Linked DNA regions of Homo sapiens: region 1 is linked to region 2. The links are contacts of gene promoters, found by promoter capture Hi-C in blood cells and fetal thymus (Javierre and others, 2016). All regions are on one chromosome and are shown on one strand. Each heading gives the region's core, a stretch centred on a gene start or on the middle of the fragment in contact. The rest is flanking DNA. Distances are from core to core; before and after follow the strand shown.

Region 1 (6,510 bases), core at 2,989-5,488, 200 kb after region 2:
CACGTGTGAGTCACCAAACCTGGCCTCTCTTTAAAATTTTAATTTGATTTAATTTTTTAAAAATTTCATTTGTTTGTTTTTGAGACAGAGTCTTGCTCTGTTGCCTGGGCTAGAGTGCAGTGGTGCAATCACAGGTCACTGCAGCCTCGACCTCGCCAGGCTCAGGTGATCCTCCCACCTCAGCCTCCTGAGTAGCTGGGACTACAGATGCATGTCACCATGCCTGGCTAATTTATATATATATATGTTTTTTGTTTGTTTGTTTGTTTTGAGACGGAGTCTCGCTCTGTCGCCCAGGTTGGAGTGCAGTGGCGAGATCTTGGCTCACTGCAAGCTCCGCCTCCCAGGTTCACGCCATTCTCCTGCCTCAGCCTCCCGAGTAGCTGGGACTACAGGCGCCCGCCACCGCGCCCAGCTAATTTTTTTTTTGTATTTTTGGTAGAGATGGGGTTTCACTGTGTTAGCCAAGATGGTCTCCATCTCCTGACCTCATGATCCTCCCGCCTCGGCCTCCCAAAGTGCTGGGATTACAAGCGTGAGCCACCACGCCCAGCCTATATTTTTAACAGAGACGAGATTTCACCATGTTGCCCAGGCTCGTCTCAAACTCCTGGGCTCAAGAGATCTGCCCACCTTAGCTTCCCAAGGTGCTGGGATTACAGGCATGAGCCACCATGCCTGGCCCAGAAGTTAAATTTCTCTGTTGTTGATTCTGAACATCCTTTTCTTTTTCACTTCTTCCATTGTTTTCTAAACTTAATGATTCCTTGCCCTTTTACACTTTTCTTCTGTTTTTCTTAAATAGACTCTATTACTTAGAGCAGTTTTAGGTTTACAGCAAAACTGTCTCTTCTGCTTTCTGGTTTGAATTTTTGTGTTAATGTTTTTATTGGTAAAAATTATTTAGATTTATGTTATGAGGTAAGAAGCTAAACTGATTAATTTTCAAAGAGCCCGAACACCATTTACATCTAATCTTCTCCTTCTCTGTTTGGTTGGAATCCTCTATCCCCTATTAAATATGAGTCTATAAGTAGATTCTTTTGTTGAATTATGTATACAGTGACATTCATCTCACTGTCCAAAGGAATTTTATTTTGGACATGTTGAAAGTTTGAAGTGTGAGGATCTAGATGTTGAGATCCACTTGGTAGTTGCATTTCTGAGTGAGGAATTCAAGAGAAATATCTGGGTAATAAATATAGATTTGAGTGTCATTAAAGAATAGGTGGCAGTTGAAGCCACAGATCTGAGTAACTTCCCCCGGGGAGAACATGCAGAGCCACAGAACAGCAGGCCACAGAGAAGCCCCAGGAGAGGACACAAGTCCAAGGGCACAGAAAGGAGGAGATACCCAAAGAGGGGAATGAGGAGCTCTCAGAGAGAGGAGGGCACAGACGTCAAAGGCAGGAGAGCAGGAGAGCATTTAAAGGATTGAATGAGGCCGGGCGTGGTGGCTCACGCCTATAGTCCCAGCTACTCAGGAGTCTGAGACAGGAGAATCACTTGAACCAGAGAGGTGGAGGTTGCAGTGATTCGAGATCTAGCCGCTGTACTCCAGCCTGGGCGACAAAGCGAGACTCAGTCTCAAAAAAAAATACATAAATAAAGGATTGAATGGATGATTAACAATGTCAGATCCCACAAAAAGCCCAGCAAAATGAAGAACAAATATTGTCCATGAGATATGTTATCCAAGGAGGCCACCAATGGCTTCAGTGATATTTGGCATCTGGAAAAATAAGCCAGGTGGATTGAGGAGTGAATGAGAGAAGTAGGAAGTGTAGAGCGTGACCTCGCTGGCAAGAAATTTCTTGGCCGGGCGTAGTGGCTCACACCTGTAATCCCAGCGCTTTGGGAGGCCGAGGTGGGCGGATCATCTAAGGTTGGGAGTTTGAGACCAGCCTGACCAGCATGGTGAAACCCTGTCTCTACTAAAAATACAAAAATTAGCTGGGTGTGGTGGCGCATGCCTGTAATCCCAACTACTCGGGAGGCTGAGGCAGGAGAATCGCTAGAACCCAGGAGGCGGAGGTTGCAGTGAGCCCAGATCGTGCCATTGCACTCCAGCCTGGGCTGGAGCAAAACTCCATCTCAAAAAAAAAAAAAAACAAAAAAAAAAGAAATTTCTCTACAGAAAGAAGGAAATAAATAGGGCAAGTCAGGCACAGTGGCTCATGCCTGTAATCCTAGAACTTTGGGAGGCCGAGACGAGTGGATCACCTGAGGTCAGGAGTTTGAGACCAGCCTGGCCAACACGGCGAAACCCCCTCTACTAAAATACAAAAATTAGCCAGGCATGGTGGTGGGTTCCTATAATCCCAGCTACTCTGGAGGCTGAGGCAGGAGAATCACTTGAACCCAGGGGTGGAGGTTGCAGTGAACCGAGATTGCTCTACTTCACTCCAGCCTGGGCAACAGAGAGAGACTCCGTCTCAAAAAAAAAAAAAAAAGAGAGAGAGAGAGAGAAAGAAATAGGGCAGAAATGAGAAGTTGAGATGGGTTTGACAAAGACAAAGGGATTCTCTTCTGGAGAAATCTGAAATGTGTTTGAATGCATCAGGAGACTGGGCACGGTGGCTCACACCTGTAATCCCAGCACTTTGGGAGGCTGAGGCTGGTGGATCACTTGAGGCCAGGAGTTCAAGACCAGTCTGGCCAACAAGTTGAAACCCCATCTCTACTAAAAATACAAAAATTAGCCAGGTGCAGTGGTGCACACCTGTAATCCCAGCTACTCGGGAGGCTGAGGCACAAGAATCTCTTGAACCTGGGAAGCAGAGGTTGCAGTGAGCAGAGATCACACCACTGCACTCCAGCCTGGGTGACAGAGCAAGACCCTGTCTATAAATAAATGAATAAATAAATAAAGCTTCAGGGTGGCCCGGTGCAGTGACACAAGCCTGTAATCCCAGCACTTTGGGAGGCCAATGCTGGTAGATCAATTGAGGTCAGGAGTTCGAGACCACCCTGGCCAACATGGTGAAACCCCATCTCTACTAAAAATACAAAAATTAGCTGGGCATGGTGGCGAATGCCTGTAATCACAGCTCTTCGGGAGGCTGAGGCAGGAGAATCACTTGAACCTGGGAGGTGGGGCTTGCAGTGAGCTGAGATCATGTCACTGCACTCCAGCCTGGGCAACAGAGCAAGACTCCATTTCAAAAAAAAACAACGAAAAACCCATCCTGGCTAACACGGTGAAACCCCATCTCTACTAAAAAAAAAAAAAAAAATACAAAAAATTAGCTGGGCGTGGTGGTGGGCGCCTGTAGTCCCAGCTACTCAGGAGGCTGAGGCAGGAGAATGGCATGAACCCAGGAAGCGGAGCTTGCAGTGAGCCGAGATTGCACCACTGCACTCCAGCCAGTCTGGGCAAGACTCCATCTCAAAAAAAAAAGGAAAAAAAAAAAAAAAGAGGCCGCGTGCAGTGGCTCACACCTATAATCCCAGCACTTTGGGAGGCCAAGGTGGGTGGATCACATGGTCAGGAGTTCAAGACCATCCTGGCCAAGATGGTGAAACCCCGTCTCTACTAAAAATACAAAAAATTAGCCGGGCATGGTGGCAGGTGCCTGTAATCCCAGCTACTCAGGAGGCTAAGGCAGAGAATCGCTTGAACCTGGAAGGTGGAGGTTGCAGTGAACTGAGATCGTGCCACTGCACTCCAGCCTGGGTGACAGAGTGAGACTCTGTCTCAAAAAAAAAAAAAGTAAATAAATAAATTAAATAAATAAATAAATGCTTCAGGGAGTCACTAGAGGAGGGGTGAAGATTCGGGGAGGAGAGAGGTCAGGTGTAGAAGATGGTGGCAGGGACAGGCTTCCACATACCAAGCTTGATCTGGGATAGGATGGAGAGGATATCACCTCTCCCTTTTTTTTTTTTGTTTTTTTGTGTGTGTATGTGTGTGTTTTTCTTTTTTGTTTTTTCAGCATCAGTTTGGTGAAAAAAAGGATGTCACCTCTTCCTGAGGAAGCAGAGAGGTGGGGGTGGAAACATGGAGCTATTTGCAGAGAAGTTCCTCAGAGGCATCTCCTTCCTCAGCGGCCCCTTCACTCAGTGGATTTGGAGACCAGGTTGTCTCAGGAGAGTAAAAAGAGACATAGAGGCCAGGGCTTCAGCAGAGAGGGTTGGAGCAGTCACAGGACAGGAGGAAGATGGAAAATTACCAGAGACACATAGAGAGGGTGTGGGCAGCCTTACTCAAATGTTTCTGCTGTGCCGGGCAGTGTGCTGGGCACCAGCGAGGCAAAACTGAGGAAGGCACAGGGCTGGGGAGTGTGTAGTGAGTACAGATGAGTAAAAAGAGGCTGGGGTGCTGCATTTGAAGTCTGTGTGAGGCACATCATGGGTGCAGAGAAAAGATCAGAAAAGACTCCATGGAGAAGGAGGTGCTTGGCCTGAGACTCGAGAGAGGAATAAACATTTGCCAAATAGACCAATAGGAGCCAGTGAGGGGTGGGACCCCCCCAGAACAGAAAAAGCAGCTGAGCAGAGGCGTGCGGTACAGGACAATGGTCAGAAGTGGCAGCCCCAGAGCCAGGACTAGGAGGAAGGGGAACGGGCTTGGGAAGAGCTTGGCTGAAGCAGCAGGCCTGGGTCCTAGAAGGGCTTGAATGCAGGCTTAGGAAGCTTAGCCTGTGTCCTGGAGGCGTGCGGAACTGGCAGAGGGTCTGGAGAGCACAGGCAGAATCGCCTTTTGGAAGGGTCACATGGTGACAAAACCCAGGATGGATTGGAGCCAGAGGAACTGGAGGCCAGGACCTGATAAGGAGGAAGCTGGCGTGGTCTGAGCTTAGAGGAAGCAGCTCTCGGGCTGCTGGCATACAGTATGGGGACTTCAACTAGGGCAGAAGCAGTGAGGTTGGAGCAGAGGGACAGATTGCACCGTATCAGGGAAACAAAAGTGGAAGGGGCTTGGGTCATTGTGGATGTGGGGAGTGAGGGAGGATTCTAGAATCACTCCCAAATTTCCCACTTGGGTGACTCAATAGAGGGTGGGGAGAGTTTAGAAGGAGCAGAGTTGGAGGATGAGATGATGAGTTCAGATTTGGGTATGCTGCATCGTGCCCTCTGGAGAGAGGCCAGTCAGGCACTTGGCTCCCGGGGTCTGGCGTTCAGGAACATCATGTGGATCGGAAAGACAGTGGTTGGAATGATGGCCCCATGGGGCAAAATGCAGTTGGCCAGGGTACACTCGGAGGGGCACAAAGATCGTGTGCATATGTGCACGTGCACACGTGTGTGTGTTCTTGGGTGGAACAAACCATGGGGAACCCACTCATCTGTGGACTGGATCTCTGTTCTTTGTTGACCCCAAAAGAGCCTGAAGAAGAGCAGGCTAGAAGGTAGGAGGAAAGCCAGGGGGGCAGAGTTGCAGAACCCCAGTGGAGATGGCATCAAGGGGAGTGGCTGCTGGCCATGCAGAGCAGGTGACATGGCAGAGAGAACCCTTGTGGGAGGTCTGAGGTGAAGCCCCCACATGTTGGTGACCTTGCTGGAGGGGAGTTGTTGCCAGGAATGCGTGATCCTGTGGGGGCCAGGGTGGAGGGGTGAGCAGGTGAGGCGAGGGGCAACGAGTGGCGGGACAGCAGGCATGCCTGTGCCTGTGTGCTTCCAAGAAGCGTGGCTGTAGAGGAAGGGGAGAGAAGAGAGGCAAGAGGAAGGGGTGCGGGATGAAAGGAGGCTTTTAGTTGCAGTTTAAGACTCTGGGGTGTTTGTGGCCTCTGAAGAAGGAGCAGTGGAAAGGCATAAACATCAGGGTTCTCAGAGGAGAAGGTGCAGCAGGAGAAGGAGGCCAGGAGAAGAAGTCTTCTGGAAGCAAAAGAGCAGGAGAAGGAGGAAGGTTCAGATGGGCCCTGCCTGGAGGCAGCTGGTGGACATGAACAGGGGAAAGGGAGGGACTTCCCACTTGATGGCCATCCCTGAGAATCCTGGGTGAGGGAGGGTGTATCAGTAGGGCCAGGAGCTGGAGAGGGAGGGGCTTGGAGAGAAGTCTTGGGGCAGGGTGGGAATCGAGCAAGGAGGCCATGACTTCCTGGGCGGAGTTCTGTATCCCTGGTACAGACTCAGAGGAGGCAGCTGGTCTTGCCAGCCCTGGCCGGGCCAGGAGAATGGGCACAGCAGCACGACTGAGGCAGGGCAACAAGGACCCCGAGGAGAGGTTGTCACAGGGCAAAGCCTCATGGAACCCAGCAAAGATGGGGCAGTCAGAGGAGCCCAAGTTGGGCAGGGCTGGAGGAAGGAGAAGGAAGCCAGAGTGAGTGTTTTAGAGCGGGAGCTGCTCCAGCCAACCATGCTCTCCAGATAGAATGCGGACAGAGACAGATGACAGAGCCTTGGGATAACCAAAAACAAGAAAAAGAAAAAAGGAATGTTGACAAAGACCCTTTGGTGCCTCTGCGAAACTCAGCCCCACCTAGGCTGGGAGCACTGGGAGGCCAGGCCACAGGTACCTGGCATCACCCCTACCATGTGCCAGAGAGCGCCTGCGGGACCCTGCAGGCA
Region 2 (6,934 bases), core at 3,705-6,204:
CTGCAGCTCTGGCTAGGAACAAGTCCTGCCCAAGGGGCTGACTTCTATAAAATGGTCTCAAGTTTTCATAGAAATTGGCCAGGTTGGGGAGGGGGTGTTGTCGGGAGGAGCTGGAACAGCACAAGTTAAAGAGAACCCTGTGGGAAGAAGCCTGAGGGTGAAAACAGATGTTGCCAGTTCCAGGAGCTGCAGAATCGTCACAGAGGACAGGAAGAAGCTCCACATACCAGAAGCCTGCCCAGCAGGGCATTGGAAGCCACACTTTGTCATTTCAGTTGATCCTAAAGGCAAAAGGGAGCCCTGGAATCTCTTAAGCAAGGCTGATGAGGTGGTGTTTTCACATTTAGAAAGATTTCTCTGGCACCTGCCAGGCAACGTGTGACTTTCCTCAGTCGGTGATGCCCTGTGCAGTGTCAGCTTCTGGATTGGGGACCACACAAGGATGACAGACTCAGAAAGAGCATGATCAACTTGAGGTCAGGAGTTCGAGACCAGCCTGGTCAACCTGGTGAAACCCCAACTCTACTAAAAATACAAAAATTAGCTGGGTGTGGTGGTACAGGCCTGTAATCCCAGCTACTCAGGAGGCCGAGGCAGGAGAATTGCTTGAACCTGGGAAGTGGAGGTTGCAGTGAGCCAAGATTGCGCCACTGCACTCCAGCCTGGGTGACTCCGTCTCAAAAAAAAAAAAAAAGCATGATCAAACTGCCTGTGCTTTTCAAAAGCAGATTTGGGGTGAGAGAATCATCTTCTCACAGAACCTGGCTTGGAGTCATGCAAAAAGATGTCAAGGGAGGCCAGGCGCCATGGCTCATGCCTGTAATCCCAGCATTTTGGGAGGCTGAGGTGGGTGGATGGCTTGAGCTCAGGAGTTTGAGATCAGCCTGGGCAACATAGCAAGACCCTGTCTGTATCAAAAGTACAAAAAAAAAAAAAAAACAAAAAAAACCCCGAGCAAGGTGTGATGGTGTATGCCTGTAGTCCGAGCTACTCAGGAGGCTGAGGTGGGAGGATCGTTTGAGCCCAGGAGACGGAGGCTGCAGTGAGCCAAGATCACGGCACTCTGCTCTAGGCTGTGTGACAGAGAGAGAACTCATCCCCTGCCCCCCCAACCACCCCCCTCCCGCCCGCTTAAAAAATAAAAGATGTCAAAGGAATCTGAGCTGTCTCTTGGATTTTTGTTTCAATTGAAAACAGCTTTCACTGGGCATATATATGTGCACTTAACCCTGTTTGCAAACCACTGTATCCATTTCCTATTGCTGCTGAAACAAATCACTGCCAATTGTGTCATCTTGACAGTTCTTGAGGTCAGAAGTTGGAAATGGGTCCCCCTGGGCTAGAGTCGAGGTAACAGCAGGCTGATTCCTTCTGGAGCCTCTAGAGGAGGGTCTGCCCCCTAGCCTTTTCCAGCATCTAGAGGCTGCCTGCATTCCTTGGCTCAGGCCCCTTCCTCCATCTTCAAAGCCCACAGTGTAGCACCTTCAAATCTCTCTGACCTCTGTCGTTACGTGGTCCTTCTCCCATGTGACCCTCCTGCCTCCCTCTTATAAGGACCTTTGTGACTACATTGAGCTCACTCAGATAACCTGGGATAATCTCTTCCATCTTGAGATCTTAACTTCATCTCATCTGCAAAATCCCCTTTGATGTATCACATAACACATTCAAAGATTCCAGGGATTAGGGCGATGACATCATTGTGGCGCTATCATTCAGACTACTACCTCCTCTAACAAAGAGAAGGAAGGATAGTCTGGCAACTGAGAGGAGGATGGGCCGGAAGTGGGCAGGCTGATGTTAGGGAGAACTGGAGGCTGCTGCAGGCTCAGCAAGGAAGATGCTGGTGGTCTGGGCTGGGGTGGAGCAGGAAGAATGGACACAGAATGTGTTTCAGAGTGAGGGCAGCCTGGTCACAGGCACTATCTGGTTTAGGTGGGCAAGGACTAGCAGGAGAGACATGGGAAGATGCCTAAGTGTACAGATGGGCTTACTGGGTAGATGGTGGTGCCCTTCAGAGGGCCCAAGGGGAGGAGCAGATTTGTGGCAAGGACAAAGAGGACATGTGGGGATGTGTTACATCCCAGACACCAATGGGACATCCAGGAGAGAAGCCCCTGAGTCAAGTGGATCCAGGGTCTTTTGGGTCCCTCCCCTTATTATGGGAATATATGGATTCATCTTTCACTTTGTTTTTTAATTTTTATTTGTATTTGCATTTATTTATTTATTTAAAGACAGAGTCTTGTTCTGTCGCCTGTAAGGAGTGCAATGGCACAATCTCGGCTCACTGCAACCTCTGCCTCCTGGGTTCAAGCGATCCTCCCATCTCAGCCTCCCGAGTAGCTGGGATTACAGGCGCAGACCACCATGCCCGGCCAATTTTTGTATTTTTGGTAGAGACAGGGTTTCGTCATGTTGCCCAGGCTGGTCTCAAACTCCTGACCTCTAGTGATCTGCCTGCCTCGGCCTCCCAAAGTGCTCAGATTACAGGTGTGAGCCACCATGCCCAGTCCCACCTTGTTTTTTAAAATATTTATTTATTTATTATTATTTTTTAAAGAGATAAAATCTGACCGGGCACAGTGGCTCATGCCTGCAATCCCATGGTGGCAGGCAACTGTAATCCCAGCTACTCGGGAGGTTGAGGCAGGGGAATCGCCTGAACCCGGGAGGTGGAAGCTGCAGTCAACTGAGATCGCACCACTGCACTCCAGCCTGGGAGACAGAGCGAGACTCCGTCTCAAAAAAAAAAAAAAAAGAGAGAGAGAGAGAGATAAGATTTTTTTTGTGTGTGACAGAGTCTCACTCTGTCACTCAGGCTGGAGTAGAGTGGTGCGATCTCGGGTCACTGCAACCTCTGCCTCCTGGGTTCAAGCCATTCTCTTGCCTCAGCCTCCCGAGTAGCTGGGACTACAGGCACATGCCATCACGCCTGGCTTACTTTGTACTTTTAGTGGAGATGGGGTTTCACCGTGTTAGCCAGGATGGTCTCGATCTCCTGACCTCATGATCCACCTGCCTTGGCCTCCCAAAGTGTTGGGATTACAGGTGTGAGCCACTGAGACCAGCTGAGAGATAAGATCTTACTTTCACCCAGGCTGGAGTGCAGTGGCATGATCGTAATTCACTGCAATCTTGAACTCCCGAACTCAAGTGATTCTTTTCTCCTGCCCCAGCCTCGTGAGTAGCTGGGACTATAGGCACAGGCCACCAGGCCCAGCTATTTTTTTTCATCTTTTGTAGAGATGGGAGTCTCTCTATGTATCCCAGGCTGGTCTCAAACTCCTGGCTTCAAGTGATTTTCCTGCCTCAGCCTCCTTAAAGTGCTGGGATTACAGGTGTGAGCCACTGCATCCAGCCTCATCCTTCACCTTGATTTCTGGGTCATGATCTCTGTTTGACCCGAAGTTTTCCAATTCCAGATAAGAGTTAAGTAGTCAGCTTGTACTCTGAAGCCAGAATAGCATTGATATTTATCTCACATTGAGTTTGAGTTTATCAGTCTTGAAAACAAGAATTTAAGTAATAGGTTATGTCACTTGCACAAGGACCCACACACCTGTCATGTGACAGAGAAGGAGTAGTTATGTTGCCTAATAAAACATACAATAAGTATGCTTGTGACTTATACATTTTAGAGATAAGGATGTTTTCTTTCCCTATCTGTCATATCTGCCTTGGAGATGCGCACAGGACAGATAGCAGAAGACAAAGTGTCTTCCTGTCTTTTGAGAAAGCCTGAGCTCATAGAAGATTCCATTCTGAGTGTCCACAAGGAGAAGAGGAGAGGGGACTTTTAGGGAAACCAAGTTAGCAGGGAAGTCTCCCAGGTAGAGAAAGGGAAGGGAGGCTGCAGGCCATGGAGCAGAGGAAGCAGGTGTCTGTCCCTGGCAGCCCCAGGGAGAGGCAGGGGCCTCAGGCAGGGATGGCCTCATAGAGCCCAAACCTGAAAATCTTTGTGGACTGGAGCAATGGTTGTGGCCTCAGTACCAGACAAAACCCTGACCAGAGAGTTTTTTGCTTATTTGTTTTTGATTGTTGTTTTTTGCTATAGGAAAACATGAGTCCTTTGGAATTACCTAGCTAAAAGGAGTACAGTGGAGACTGAGACTGAATTTCCCGGCCGGGCAGGGGCTCACGCCTGTAATCCTAGCACTTTTGGAGGCTGAGGTGGGCGGGTCGCTTGAGTTCAGGAGTTCGAAACCAGCCTGGGCAACATGGCAAAACCACGCCTCTACAAAAAAATGCGAAAATTAGTCGGGCGTGGTGGTGTTCGCCTGTAGTCCTAGCTACTCTGGAGGCTGAGGCGGGAGGATCGCCTGAGCCCAGGAGTTCGAGGCTGCAGAGAGCCGTGATCGTGCCACTGCACTCCAGCCTGGGTAACAGAGACCAGTTTAAAAAATAGAAAAAGACTGAATTTCCCATCAGCCTGGAAGATTGGGGCTTGATTTTTGCTTGATTTAAAGGCAATAAATAAATGAGATATTTTGTGCTGCTTATTTTAAGCTCTTACGCTTCTCGCTTTATATTCTGGGGTACCTGCATTTTTAGTGGTGTAATTTATTTGTCTAGATCTGTTTGCCTCTTAACCTGTAAGCTCCCGGAAGGGTCGGGATATCATGGATGTTCCAGCACATACGCTCATTGAAGTGTGCAGGTTGACTGGGGTTGGGGGAGGTCTCTTCTTGAGAGCGGTGGTCTCAGGATAGAAACTGGAAGGGGGCGCTTTTGAGATGTTAGGATTTCGGGGAGACAAGCTGTGACTCGGGAGTAGGGAAAAGCGGATTTTCTAGACGAAAGGTTAGGAAGAATCTGGGAATGGGCCGACTGGGGCACCAAGAGGGTCCCTGGCAAGCCCCGCCCTGGCCGGGGGACCGGCGCGGAGTGACGCAGCGCGGTTTGGCCGCTGTGGGGCGCCGTAGCCCGCGCCGTTGTCAGGGGAACGGGCCCAGCGCCGGACGAGGCCCAGCCAGTCTGGGTCTGGCCTGGCCGCCCCTCCAGCCTGCTGGAGCCGGAGCCGGAGCCGGAGCCGGAGCCGGAGCCGGAGCCAGAGCCAGAGCTCGAGGACTCACCGGCCCAGTCTCCGTCCGGGATGGGGCCCCGCTCCCGGGCGCGTTGCCGCCCAGTCCCGGGGACCGTCCCTACCGCGAGGGTCTGAGGCGCGGCTGCCCCGGGGAGGGTGGAAGGCCAGGCGTGGGGCCCGAACCTCTGGCTGACTTTGGCAGGGCCCATCTGGCACGGCCTCCGCGGCGCGCAGGTGAGGAGTCCCCGCCCGGTTTCTCACCTCGGAGCCTGGCTTGAGCCACGGGGTAGCGGATGCTGCCGCCTGGCCGGCTTTGGGCTCGCTTCCGCCTGGAGCCGGTGGCCTGAGTTCCAGGGCCCCGGCAGAGCGCGGGGCTTCCTTTTAGCATGCATCAAGTTCACAGATCTTCCTTGAGCGCTTACTCTTTGCCAGGCTCTGTGCCAGGCGTGGGCACAGAGGACTCCCAACAGACGTGGTCTGTCTCCAGAACCCAGAGCATTAAGGAAGGGGGCTGGGAAGCGGATGTCATACATGACTAAAGTGATTTCAGGTCGGGTTAGGCTCTCTGGTATTGAAATGGAGGGGTTGGTCATGGAGGGTCTGTTTTAAAAGGAAACCATGGGAAGAGTTTTAGTTTTTTCTTTGAGACGGAGTTTCGCTCTTGTCACCCAGGCTGGATGGAGCGCAGTGGCACGACTCGGGTCATTGCAACCTCCGCCTCCCGGGTTCAAGCCATTCTGCTGCCTCAGCCTCTGGAGTAGCTGGGATTACAGGCGCCCGCCGCCACGCCCGGCTAAGTTTTATATTTTTAGTAGGGACGGGGTTTCACCATGTTGGCCAGGCTGTTCTCGAACTCCTGACCTCAGGTGATCCACCCGCCTCGGCCTCCGAAAGCGTTGGGATTACAGGTGTGAGCCACCGTTCCCAGCCAATTTTTTATTTTTTTGAGACAAGGTCTCCCTTTGTCACCCAGGCTGGAGTGCTGTGGTGTGAACATGGGTCACCGCAGGCTCCGGCTCCCGGGCTCAAGCGATCCTCCCGCCTCAGCCTCCCAAGTAGCTGAGACTACAGATACCCGCCACCACGCTCAGCTAATTTTTTAAGGTTTTGGTAGAGATGAGGTCTTACTATTTTGCCCAGGCTGGTCTCGAGCTCCTGGTCTCAAGGGATCCTCTTGCCTCAGCCTCCCAAAGTGCTGGGATTACAGGTGTGAGCCACTGCAAGCGGCAGAAGAGTTTTTTATTTTTTGTTTATTTTTATTTTTATTTTCCAGATGGAGTCTCGCTCTGTCACCCAGGCTGGACTGCAATGGCACAATCTCGGCTCACTGCAACCTCCACCTCCCGGGTTCAAGCGATTCTCCTGCCTCAGCCCCCCAAGTCTGGGATTACAGGCGCCTGCCACCACACCCAGCTAATTTTTGTATTTTTAGTAGAAACGGGGTTTCAACATGTTGGCCAGGCTGGTCTTGAACTCCTGACCTCAGGTGATCCAGCCACCTTGGCCTCCCAAAGAAGAGTTTGGATGAGTTTCACGTTTGAAAAGCTCACTTCACTCTGGCTGCTGAGCAGCATGGTTGTGACAGACATACCGGGAAGTCAGTTGAGGGCCATCCTAGTTCTGCCAATCTAGCTGTGCCTCCTAAAATAACTCATTTAGTGTCTCTGAGCCTCAGTGTCCTCATGATGGGAGTGGGTGTTCTGTATGTTTTTTATGAGGAAGTGAGAGGCCAGTCACATCTGAAATCAGTGACTACAGGGATCTACAAGAACAGTTGGAAATGATAGGACCTTCCTTAGAGCTCTATGAGGATTGAATGAGTGAATTCCACTGAAACAGTGCCTGGCACAGAATAAGTGCATTCTAAATGCTGGTGTTGGTTATTATCATGCAAACACTGTAGGAGAG

What was found. Contacts are between HindIII fragments. The CHiCAGO score rates a contact against its expected background, and 5 or more counts as called.
Region 1: a contact is called between a fragment that was not itself captured here and the fragment with the promoter of ZDHHC1 in region 2, in 2 of 17 cell types (endothelial precursors and erythroblasts). The highest score is 5.3, in endothelial precursors.

The regions. Positions count from the first base shown.
Region 1 is chr16:67,215,384-67,221,893 of GRCh38, reverse strand. It overlaps the pseudogene FBXL9P. Among named protein-coding and RNA genes, the nearest start is that of TMEM208, 8.5 kb to the left of the region's middle. The HindIII fragment of the contact is 798 bases long and covers 3,840-4,637 here.
Region 2 is chr16:67,414,497-67,421,430 of GRCh38, reverse strand. ZDHHC1 (zDHHC palmitoyltransferase 1) reads left to right here and starts at 4,954. Exons shown (of 12, transcript NM_001323627.2): 1 at 4,954-5,260. It overlaps LOC124903702 (a long non-coding RNA gene), which reads right to left and starts at 5,528. Exons shown (of 2, transcript XR_007065093.1): 1 at 5,288-5,528. RefSeq lists silencers at 71-365, 4,898-5,287 and enhancers at 1-497, 4,408-5,065. The HindIII fragment of the contact is 9,596 bases long and covers 1-6,934 here.